2 separate regions of the Homo sapiens genome follow, and region 2 is linked to region 1. The links are contacts of gene promoters, found by promoter capture Hi-C in human tissues and cell types (Jung and others, 2019). All regions are on one chromosome and are shown on one strand. The core of a region is centred on a gene start or on the middle of the fragment in contact, and the rest is flanking DNA. Distances in the headings are between cores, read along the strand shown.

The links. Contacts are between HindIII fragments. The study calls those that stand out against the background at their distance.
Region 2: a fragment that was not itself captured here is called in contact with the fragment with the promoter of RNF168 in region 1 in 2 of the 25 tissues and cell types used here (dorsolateral prefrontal cortex and psoas muscle).

Annotation. Positions count from the first base shown.
Region 1 is chr3:196,501,777-196,507,762 of GRCh38, reverse strand. It overlaps RNF168 (ring finger protein 168), which reads left to right and starts at 3,995. Exons shown (of 6, transcript NM_152617.4): 1 at 3,995-4,890. The coding sequence starts at 4,590. It overlaps SMCO1 (single-pass membrane protein with coiled-coil domains 1), which reads left to right. Exons shown (of 3, transcript NM_001077657.3): 3 at 1-884. It overlaps LOC105374306 (a long non-coding RNA gene), which reads left to right and starts at 5,711. Exons shown (of 2, transcript XR_924896.3): 1 at 5,711-5,986. LOC105374307 (a long non-coding RNA gene) reads right to left here and starts at 2,411. Exons shown (of 3, transcript XR_924897.3): 1 at 1,552-2,411; 2 at 1,332-1,436; 3 at 871-961. RefSeq lists a silencer at 3,746-4,045 and enhancers at 4,666-4,755, 4,796-4,865, 4,517-5,200, 5,201-5,885. The HindIII fragment of the contact is 9,103 bases long and covers 1-5,338 here.
Region 2 is chr3:197,097,667-197,103,652 of GRCh38, reverse strand. All of the region lies in intron 14 of DLG1 (discs large MAGUK scaffold protein 1), which reads left to right. Among named protein-coding and RNA genes, the nearest start is that of MELTF, 71 kb to the right of the region's middle. The HindIII fragment of the contact is 3,098 bases long and covers 1,228-4,325 here.

The sequences.
Region 1 (5,986 bases), core at 2,746-5,245:
GACAAATTGATACAATAGATACTTTCTTTGCAGCCATATAAAAGAATGAAGAAGCTCTTTGTGTAATGATATGAAGTGATCACCAAATGTATTGTTGTTTTCAAATGTTTATTTCCAATATACATTGCTAAGTGGAAAAAAGGTGACAAATATATATATATAAATATATATATAACACATATTAGTTTACATATCCATAAACTTCTTCTGCAGAGATACACAAGACAGTGATAACATTAGTTGTCAGGAAAGAAAGCTAAGAGGCTAGGGGTCAAAGACAAGAGGAAGTCTTTTCACTGTTAATCCATTTTTTACATTTTCAATTTTGAACCATGTGAATGTATTACCTATTTAAAAAATAAACAAGGCCGGACATGGTGGCTCATGCCTATAATCCAAGCACCTTAGGAGGCCAAGGTAGGAGGATCACTTGAGCTCAGGGGTTTCAGACCAGCCTGGGCAACACAGTGATAGCAATAGGAGGCAGGTAAATTCCTAGGCAGACAGGGAGGGGTCCCTGGTGAAACTCAACCTTCAAGCCAAGGACAGTCTAAAGCCTGAAAACCAAGCTATGAGTTCTGGATAAATCCATGAGCCAGACTGAGAGCTCCCATTCTCGTCTGGCACCCTCTCTCCTGATTGGTCCTTACCCTTCACCTATTTTATACATACCTACCCTTCCGCGATTGGTCCTCTACACTATCGTGCCTATTTCTGAATGGTGCTTTGTCAAGCATAGCCACAGACCAATCAGCATGCACTTGCCCATTTCTAGCCCACAAAAACCCATAGACTCAGGCTCGTGGCCAGCAACCCACCTTCGGGTCCCCTCTCACTGCCAAGAGCCGTTCTGTCACTCAATAAATTCTACTTTGCCTTACTCACTCTCCAGTGTCCGTGTACCTCATTCTTCTCAGTCATGGGACAACAACTCAGAACTCATCAAATTCGGGAGTAAGAGCTGTAACAATAGTGAGACCTCATCTCTATTTTCATAAATTAAAACAAAAACACCTAAAATATACATCATGAGATCCTATAAATTGTATCTTAATGTGTATTTGTTCTCTAATGAAGTACCATAGTTATTTATACCAGAAAGGAGATTCTTACATCTTGACCATTTATTTATAATATTTATCGAATACCAAATGCCATGTACTAGGTACTGTGGATAACAGAAACATTAAAAATGTGGATCCTGCCCTCGAGGTAAAGATTAAGTGCCGATGCTTTATTTGGGAGGTACAAATTCAGGACAGCCAGAGTGAAGAAAGCTGGAAGGAAGTTAGGTAGAGAAGGATGTGAAGTAATACATGGTGATGTGTTACCTTGCTGTCCCCTCCTTGAAAATGAGCCACAAGAGACACAGCAGCTTTTTCAGCAGGCACACTCCCTCAGTCTTGCCTGTCTCCAGACACACTGGAGAAACCATCCTTGGAAGGAAGAAGAAAAGGGAATTTAAGTATTGTGCTCGGTCAGTCCACTGGTTTCAATTGGTGAAAGTTACTCCATGGGGAGTGACCCCCCCACCCTCCCAGCATGCATTACCGAGGCCCTAGCAGCCTCTGAGAAGTCAGCTCCTGCATTGTTCAGAAGTGGCAGGAGAAGCCAGAGATTCCGGAAATGCAACTGGTGAGCCCCAAAAAGAGCAAGTGATTATGGGTACAGAAAGCAAACAAAGTGAAGGAAATCTGAGGAAGTACATGAAATATATCCATTACACAAGACATAAGCACCTGAAGATAGAAATCAAAATACAGGAGTTCAATAGTAAAACTGCAATAAAAATCAGTATCACTGGGCAATATATGACTGGGTGAGTTTAGAAAAGGGGCATTACTGGTGGTGGGGAGTGCATTAAATTGCACATAAAAGTGCACTCTGGAAGAAGTGAATTAATTTTTTTTTTTTTCGAGACGGAGTCTTGCTCTGTCAACCCAGGCTGGAGTGCAGTGGTGCAATCTGGCCTCACTGCAACCTCTGCCTCCCGGGTTCAAGCAATTCTTCTGCCTCAGCCTCCCGACTAGCTGGGATTACAGGCACCTGCCACCATGCCCAGCTAATTTTTGTATTTTTAGTAGAGACTGAGTTTCAACATGTTGGTCAGGCTGGTCTCGAACTCCTGACCTTGTGATCCGCCCTCCTTGGCCTCCCAAAGTGCTGGGATTACAGGCATGAGCCACCGTGCCTGGCCCAACTGCATTAAATTGGTGTTTGAAGTAGGCACAGCCACAAAGCAACCCATTTAGGATGAACCGAGAAAGCAATGTCATGAAAGCAAAACGTTTGGATGACAGAGAATAAATCATAGTTGCATGTTTAAAAGAATAATGGGAGATTCGATGGGAAAAGCAGGTTGTGGACATATTAGGAAGCCTGAAGGCCAGGTGCAGTGGCTCACGCCTGTAATCCCAGCACTTTGGAAGGCCAAGGCCGGTGGATCACCTGAGGTCAGGAGTTCGAGACCAGCATGGCCAACATGGTGAAACCCCATCTCTACTAAGAATACAAAAATTTGCCAGGCGTGGTATTACAATGCACGTGGTATTACAAGGCACGCGCCTGTAATTGCAGCTACTCGGGAGGCTGAGGCATGAGAATCGCTTGAACCCAGGAGGTGGAGGTTGCAGTAAGCTGAGATCAAACCACTGCACTCCAACCTGGGCAACAGAATGAGGAGCCATCTCAAAAAAACAAACAAACGAACAAAAAACAAGCCTGAAATTCCAAGCTAAGGTACTGTTACTGTAGACAACCAGATGACAGTCCCAGGTTTCTTTTTTTTTTCTTTTTTTTGAGACAGGGTCTTGCCCTGTCACCCAGGCTGGGGTGCAGTGGTACGATCACTGTTCACTGCAGCCTTGACCTCCTGGGCTCAAGTGATCCTCCCACCTCAGCCACCAGAGTAGCTGAGAGTATAAGTGTGAGCCAGCACACCGAGTTAATTTTTTTATTTTTTGTAGAGACAGGGTCTCACTATGTTGCCCAGGCTGGACCTGAACTCCTGGGCTCCACTGATCTTCCCGCCTTGGCCTTCCAAAGTGCTGGGACTACAGGTGTGAGCTATCACAGACAATAACAGGTTTCTGAACCCACATTGAAATGAAAGTTCCCAAAGACTTCTACCAACGACCGATGTCTCCTCGTTGTTCTCAACCTGGAAACCATCCCCTACCCAGCCTGAATGCTCTCAGCAGCCTCAAAACAACTTAAAGGCTGCTTTCACGCACAGTGATTTTCTTTTCTCTTCCTTCACACTGATTGATTCCCTCAAAAAATGCAGGTCCGGAGCTGGCTATGGAGTTGCAAGCTCTAGACCCAGCTACTCCAGAGGCTGAGGCGAAAGAATCCCTGGAACCCTGGAGTTGTAGTCCAGCCTGGATAAAACAGTGAGACCCCAATTCTTTTATCTATTTATTTATTTGTATTTTTTGAGGTGGAATTTTGCTCTGTCCCCCAGGCTGGAGTGCAGTGGCACAATCTCGGCTCACTGCAGCCTCTGCCTCCCAGGTTTAGCGATTCTCCTGTCTCAGCCTCCTGAGTAGCTGGAATTGCAGGAGCTTGTCACAATGCCCAGCTAATTTTTGTATTTTTAGTAAGGACGGGGGTTTCACCATGTTGGCCAGGCTGGTCTTGAACTCCTGACCTCAGGTGATCCGCCCGCCTCGGCCTCCCGAAGTGCTGGGATTACAGGCGTGAGCCACCGCACCCGGCCTTGTTTGGCTGTTGATTTTGTTTTGAGGTTTCCCTTTTTCTACCCAGAAACCAAGAAACCAGGGGTGTCTGAGGCCTCGCAGAAATCTCAGGGAAAGGTCAGGCTCCACCCAGGCTGCACTAGGCGGGGCTGCGACGCCAGGGCGGGACCGTCTCCGGCTGGGAGGGAGGGCGGGCGGCGCGCAGACCCCGGAAGTCCCGCCCCGGGAACGTTCGCCCTTGGGCAGTTTTCTGGGTGGGAAGTGCGATTTTGGCGGGCGGTTGTGACGTTGCTAGCGCTTGTCCGGTGGCTGCTGCGCTGCCGCAACGAATAGGGTTTCTGGCTGCGTAGGAGGGACGGGGGCGCGGAGCTCTGGGAAACTGCGCCAGGCGCCCGAAAGGTGAACACGGGAGTCGCGCGTCTCCCCCGCAGCAGCGGTAAAGCGGAAGTTATGCTGCAGCCGGAGCCCGGGCTTCCTCCCGGAGCCGCGTCCCGGGGCCCGGCTGCCCCGAGCTGAGCGGAGCATCCTTTCCGGGTGAGGGGAGGAGAGGACTTGGCGCGTTCCCCTCGCTGCCCCGGGAGCCGCAGCCGCGGTGTTCATGCCGCGGAGCAGCCAGGCTCCTCCGACGAAAACCTGCATTTATTTGCTGGCGGGACGTTTGCCTTGAAAATGGACAAAGACGCCGCCCTCCGGGGTATTCCTGTTTGCCTGACCCTGAGAGCGCCTTTTTGCTTCAAGACGTGTTGGATGCTCCTGTTCTCCGAATTCTGATACGCTTCTGGGCATAATACTGAAACACAAAACTGCTTTTGCTCTCTCTGTGGTTGGCCGAAAATAGGATTCTTTTTCGTGCAGGTGTCGTTGTTTAGTCGGCTTTACTAACATATTGAAATGGCTCTACCCAAAGACGCCATCCCCTCGCTGTCCGAGTGCCAGTGCGGGATCTGCATGGAAATCCTCGTGGAGCCCGTCACCCTCCCGTGTAACCACACGCTGTGTAAACCGTGCTTCCAGTCGACCGTCGAAAAGGCGAGTTTATGCTGTCCCTTCTGTCGCCGCCGGGTATCGTCGTGGACTCGGTACCATACCCGAAGAAATTCTCTCGTCAACGTGGAACTGTGGACGATAATTCAAAAACACTATCCCAGGGAGTGCAAGCTTAGAGCGTCTGGCCAAGAATCAGAGGAAGTGGGTGAGTAAACCATGGCGTGTTTGTTGGCCAAAAGCCGCAAGTCTTTGAAAAGGTGAATCATCACTTTTCCATTTAAAAAGTAAAAACAAACCAAAAAACCCGACTAGTATTTGTCTAAATAGTTCTCAGAGGTTAGGGGGTTTATGGGTCCCCAAATGTCGATGGATTATAAAGTCAAGGGCAAGATTTTGTCCATTGTCAAAATGCCCGCGCTGTGTTCGATGGGTGTTTGTTGTGTTAAAAATTAAAGAATTGCCCGTCTGGAGCCTTCTTTTTTTTTTTTTTGAGACAGGATCTCGCTCCGTCCTCCAGGCTGGAGTGCAGTGGCGCGATCTCGGCTCCCTGCAACCTCCGCCTCCCGGTTTCAAGCGATTCTCCTGCCTCAGCCTCCCGAGTAGCTGGGGTTACACGCGTGCACCATCACGCCCGGGGAATTTTTCTGTTTTTTAGTAGAGACGGGATTTCACCATGTTGGCCAGGCTGATCTCAAACTCCTGACCTCAAGGGATCCGCCCGCCTCGGCCTGCCAAAATGCTGGGATTACAGGCTTGAGCCACCGCGCCCGGCCTCTGATTTACTTATCTATACATCTCCATTCATTTAATTCTTGATTCTCCTAATCATGCGACGAGGCTAAAGTCGCTTTTTTATCACTCAACCCTGCACCCGGTAGACTCAGGAGCCCCAAACTGAACCCTTGACTCTTTCCTCCACTAATGTGAGCAATAAGCCGGGCGGTGGTTCCTGTCTGGGCTTAGGATATGGTGTCTCCGTTCTCTCGTGGACAGGTCTTTTTTTTTTTTTTTTTTTTTTTTTTTCTAATTTTTTTTGGTCACAGTTATATGTGTACCTGCCTTTTAAACATACGTTTATTTTATTGTAAAAAAATGCCATTTTAAACATTTTTAAACAATAGTTAAAAGAAAAAGCTTTATTCAAATGCTCGCAGACCATACAATTCACCTACTAAAAGTGTGCGGTTGGCCGGGAGCGATGGCTCACAGCTGTAATCCCAGCGCTTTGGGAGGCGGAGGTGGGAGGATCTCTTGAACCCAGGAGTTGAGGCCGGTCTGGGTAACATAAATTCAGTAAAATG
Region 2 (5,986 bases), core at 1,527-4,026, 600 kb before region 1:
TTGGCCTTTTAGGCTTAGTAACTAAACAGGGGAAAATTTGTTTAATTGGGAGTAAATTCTGAATATTAATTCACATTAACCAAACAATAGAGACTAACGTATGAAGTCAGAATGTCAATTCGTTAATTTTTGTGAGAAACAAATCTGCCAATGGGACCCTATGTTGTACTTTTATCTTCTGGCCAACATATTCCACCCCGTAGGTACACTATATGGAAGCCGAGTTACAGTCACTGGTTCCTTAGTATTATAGACAGCCTCTCATTTATATGTTTATAAGGAATATAAACTTTTTAGGTATGGTTACGGGTAACTTAATATCTGCTCCCTAACCTCAAAACACACAGAACACACAAAAGCAGTAAGAAAAACAAAACATACACGCATGCTCCTACCCACACAACTTCACTTAATATTAACTAAAACTAAGAAGGCAGGTATGATACCTGGACAACCAAGTAGAGGTAAAGACTCCTTAAGCAGCTGAGGTCTTGCAGAAGCCACACGGAAAGAGGGGAAGAGTTAAAATATGGAATGTTGAGAATGTTTGTGATGGCACAAATTTAGGATATGGTATAAAATTTCACTCATAATGTGGTTTGGTTTAGAAAAGCAGAGGACCCGTATTTGGATAAAGCAGCCTGCCTCTGTAGGATCAGATAATGTGACAGTATTTGGGTTTTAAAACCTGTAAAAATGTCCTGTGCCTCTATCTTTCCTGCACCCCTCGACTTTCTGGAATAGCTACTCTAGCAAAATCTAGCAAAGTAATAAGTAATTTTTTTTGTTTGTTTTAAGATGGAGTTTCACTCTCTTGCCCAGGCTGGAGTGCAGTGGCACAATCTCGGCTCACTGTAACCTCCGCCTCCCAGGTTCAAGCCTCCCAAGTAGGTGGGATTACAGGCACCTGCCACCACGCCCGGCTTATTTTTGTATTTTTAATAGCGACGGGGTTTCACCATGTTGGCCAGACTGGTCTCCTGACCTCAGGTGATCTGCCTGCCTCGGCCTCCCAAAGTGCTGGGATTACAGGCGTGAGCCACAGCCCCCAGCCCCAGTAATAAGTAATTTAAAAGTAGCCTCACATTCATACAAAGATAATAAGAGGTGGGGAAAAGCATCAAAGCTTAGTAACAGGTTAGCTACACGCACACACAACACAAAAACATTAACACAAATCGGATTTTAAGAAGTACAAAAGGAGTCATCCGACACTCTGATAATCAGCATCTTGCAGTTAGTATCTTTCCTAAAGGCTTGGGATTCTCTGCCTTGTTGATAATCTTATATATATACATACAAGACAGACAGATAGAGACAAAGGTAAGCTTTTGGTAGAATTAAGTTTTTTATCTTTCAGGATCTATGGTTTGCCTTATTAGTCTTCCAAAAAAGTACTTTTATGGGTTTTTCAGCTTGTGTACTTTGAACTTTCTTGACTTGGATTCTGATTATGAGAAAAAATAATCTCTACAAGACATATGAAGGAACATTATCTTCTAACTCCTTTCAGTTTTATTAATTCCAAAGGCAAGGAATAATTCACTTTGGGGGGCCTTTACTGTTAATCTTTTTGGAGAATCATTATCAGAAATTAGCTGGACGTGGTGGCTCAGGCCTCTAATCCCAGCACTTTGGAAGGCCTAGGTGGGAGGATTACTTGAGCCCAGGAGTTCGAGACCAGCCTGGGCAACATAGCAAGATCTTGTCTCTGCTAAAACTTTTTTTAAAGTTTTTTAATTAGCCATGCGTGGTAGTGCGCACCCGTAGTCCCAGCCAAGGCAGGATTGCTATGATCTCACCACTGCACTTGAGCCTGGGCGACAGAGTGAGACCCCGTCTCAAAATAAAAATAAAAATAATCGAACATGGGAACTGGAAATATAATACTATACTCGTTTTGGACTCCATATCCCAAAGTTATAAAGTTTTATCACATACTTCCTATAGTTTAAGAATCTCTTGGCCAGGCGCGGTGGCTCACGCCTGTAATCCCAGCATTTTGGGAGGCCTAGGCGGGCAGATCACGAGGTCAGGAGATAGAGACCATTCTGGCTAACACGGTGAAACCCCGTCTCTACTAAAAATACAAAACCAAAATTAGCCAGGCGTGGTGGCGGGCACCTGTAGTCCCAGCTGCTCGCGAGGCTGAGGCAGGAGAATGGCGTGAACCCGGGAGGCCGAGCTTGCAGTGAGCCGAGATCACGCCACTGCACTCCAGCCTGGGCGACAGAGCGAGACTCTGTCTCAAAAAAAAAAAAAGAATCTCCTGTGATAGTATATAATAGTAAAACTGTACGCCATGCATGATACGAACCATGTTATGTTTATTCACTCTTTTAACTCCCAAGATAATCCTGTAAGTAAGCACCGTTATCCCCGTTTTACGTTGTAGTTGAATAAGCTCTTCCATAAAGAGACCAAGTAATTTGCTAGTTACACAACTGTTAAACGGTTAAGATTTCTTCTAGCCCCTTTTAAGCGAAGAAAAACCTTTTCCTCCACCCTTGTATGTTCAGTAACGGGCCTGTGAAGTAAACTGACAAAAAAAACAGATTAACATGGAAAAAAAGTTTCTTGTATATGGATGCAAGAGGCAACAGAAGAAATACTGAAGCTAGCTTGTGGATGAAGTTAAAAGCTTGTACACCTAATCTAGTAGGGAAAGGAAGGAGGGAGAAACAGCTTTTATTAGAAAAACGTACATTTCTTCAGGAAAGACAAGTTTTTAGGAGAAGAGATGGGGGATAAAGTTTGTGATGACATTTGTCTAAACTGGTATGACTGGTCTTTCCATTCTTCGGGGCCATCAGACTCCTCAGAGGGTATTTATGGTAACTTCATTTCTCGGAAGCTGCACCTTTTAGTCAGATTAGAGAAACTCCGAGAAGGCTTTTTTCCTGCATCTGTTGAATCTCAGATATCTTCAGCTTAAAATCTTTGTGGCAACTCTGGGGTTCTGGGTGGGTCTCCATACCCTGTTCTTACTCTTTCAACTACTCATTAAACTCTTGGAATCTCTCACCTCAAATATTTAATCTTATTGTTCCTCAAGAGTATTAGGCCAACTTTCAGAGCTTATATCTCAATCTTTTGTTCAGAAAGCATTAATTATATTGTAATAATACCATAAAAGAAATAAATTGGAAAGAAACTCAATATATAAGTTAAATTTATTTTCTCTTTCCCATTGGTTAGGTCTTATATTTGTGACATATTTTATTTTCGCAAGAAAAAAACTGTTTGGTGGCATAATCCCTATTTTGCAAGTGACCAGAGTCTAGAGAGGTTAGGCCATAGTCACTTAACTTTTCTGCGCTTCAAAGCTTTGATTGAAATCTTGAGTTACAAAGGTAGATTTCTAACACCCAGTGTCCTGACTTTATTTTCATTATTACTTCTTATACCAACCAAAGGGAGAAGAGGTGGAGATAATCTGGGAAGATTGCAGTGGACTAGTGGCATTTATTTGCAGACATTTGTCATTTCTTATCATTTTCAGTAGTAGATAGGTAATTAAAATTTTTTTCAGTCTCCTGCTTTCCCACTTCCCTTGCTGTATTTTTCTACGCGCCTGTGCTGCAGTTGACCCTTGAACAACACAGGTTTGAACTGCGAGTGTCCACTTACGCACGTGCTGTTCAACCAAACTGGGATAGAAAATGCCATATGCCTGTCAGATTCCACAAGGCCTCCTGTTAGACTTGAACATGCACGGGTTTTGGTATACGTGGGGTTCTGGAACTAATCCTCCGAGTATGCCAGAGAGCTATTGTACTTAAAACAACTAACTGGCCTTCTTAAAAATAGTTTCCCTTTTTCTTTAGGCCAATTAATAGTATCCATCCTCTGAGAATTGTTTCTCTTGGGTTTAATATCTGTGTTTAATGTATTTTATTACAGTTATAAATGAATGTTTTTCTTTATAGGGATTGCATGTTAAGAAGAGATTGAGGAAGTCCAATTTCCCCCATACCCCTTCCTCACTTTTTACTTCTAGTGTGGCGGTGAAAACAAAGGTTAAAATTTGAAAGGGGATATCAAATGAAAAAATCAGCTTTTAAATATCTCTCCTTGTATAAGCGTATACATACTAACTTGTAGCCAGCAGTTCAGATACGTCCTAATACGTTTCATGACAAGAAATATGGTTTGATACAGGAATTTTTGAGATGTTGAATGGAGAAAATCTCTTATGTAAAATTATAGCTTTGCTGAGTTTTGATGTAATTCTAGGAGAGGAGTGTAAATGACTTAACTGAAAAAAGGGATGAAACTCTTCCGTCAAAATAAAAATTTAAGAAAATAGGTGTAGTGGTTAGCACTTCGGGAGGCTGAGACAAGAGGATCACTTGAGCCTAAGAGTTGAAGATCCCCTGGGTAACATAGGACACCCTGTCGCTGCAAGTAATTTTAAAAATGAGCTGGGCATAGTGATGCATGCCTGTAGGCTCAGCTACTTGAGAGGCTAAGGTAGGAAGATTGCTTGAGCCCAGGAGGTCAGAGCTACTATGAGCCATGATCGTGCCACTGCACTCCAGCCTGGATGACAGAGCAAGAGCCTGTCTCCAAAAAAACCTTAAAAACAAAACAAAAATATGTTGGTGGGAGTATTTACGAAAATATACACAGGATAGGTAAAATGTGGAGACTGATAGGACTAAAAGTATCAATTGATTGAAACAAAAGGAAAAGGTAGGAATCTTAAGTAGGTAAATGAAATAGAAGGTTTAAAGGAAAAGTAACTTTAAAATGCCGAAGTATGTTTTGAACATATAGAAAGGTAGCTGTGAGGAATTGTTAAGAGTAAGGCAAAGACTTGGCCAGGCGCAATGGCTCACGCCTGTAATCCCAGCACTTTGGGAGGCCAAAGCAGGCAAATCCCTTGAAAGCAGGAGTTCAAGACCAGCCTGGCCAACTTGATGAAACTCTGTCTCTACTAACATAAAAATTAAACAGGCATGGTGGTACATACCTGTAATTTCAGCTACTGAGGAGGCTGAGGCACAAGAATCACTTGAACCCAGGAGGCAGAAGCTGCGATGAGCCGGAATTGCACCACTGCACTCCGGCCTGAGCAACAGAGCGAGGTGGGGGCGGGTGGGAAGACTCTAAGCAAAGACTATAAATATGAAGATCTGAATACAGTGAAAGAAATAGATCACAAATTTAAGAAATTATCAGGAATTGACTTAGCTCTTCAGTATCTTAAATTTTTAATATCTGAGACTATGTTAACTGCTTTGTAGTAACTTAGTTACTCATTAAGAAAGAATATTTTTCTGCATCACTAAAAAGTAATGTGTTCTTTTTACACAGAAAGCTTTTAAATTTCTAAAATGTAGACTATCTTAAATCACTAGGACTTCTATTAATCAGATCAGCAAAATTGCTAAAAACTAATAATGCTACATGAAATGTAATACACATCTTATTTAAAAAGCATTGCAGAACTTTTAAGGAATTAGCAAACAAAACATGAAGGGAAACTAGGAACTCGGAACTCAGGGCTAAGGAAGCAGAGAAGTCTCTTTTGTTTCAAGAGCAACAGCGTACGGGCTTGGGAGAGCCAGTTAAATTTTCAGATATTTTTCAAACTAAAACATAGCCTTTATTAAAAATAAAATTATACAGAAATACAAATAAATTATATTTAAAATAGTAAAATTAAAAACAAAGGTAATATTGAAAAGTCATCACTTCCTAGTTGTTTTCTAGGAAGTAAAATAATAGAAACATAAACCAGTGAGACTAACAGAAAATACAAAAAGAGGGTTGGGCGCGGTGGCTCACGCCTATAATTCCAGCACTTTGGGAGGCTGAGGTGGGCGACTCACAAGGTCAGGAGTTTGAGACCAGCCTGGTCAACACGGTGAAACCCCTGTCTCTACTAAAAATACAAAAATTAGCTGGGCGTGGTGGTGCACGCCTGTAATCCCAGCTACTCAGGAGGCTGAGGCAGGAGAATCACTTGAACCCAGGAGGC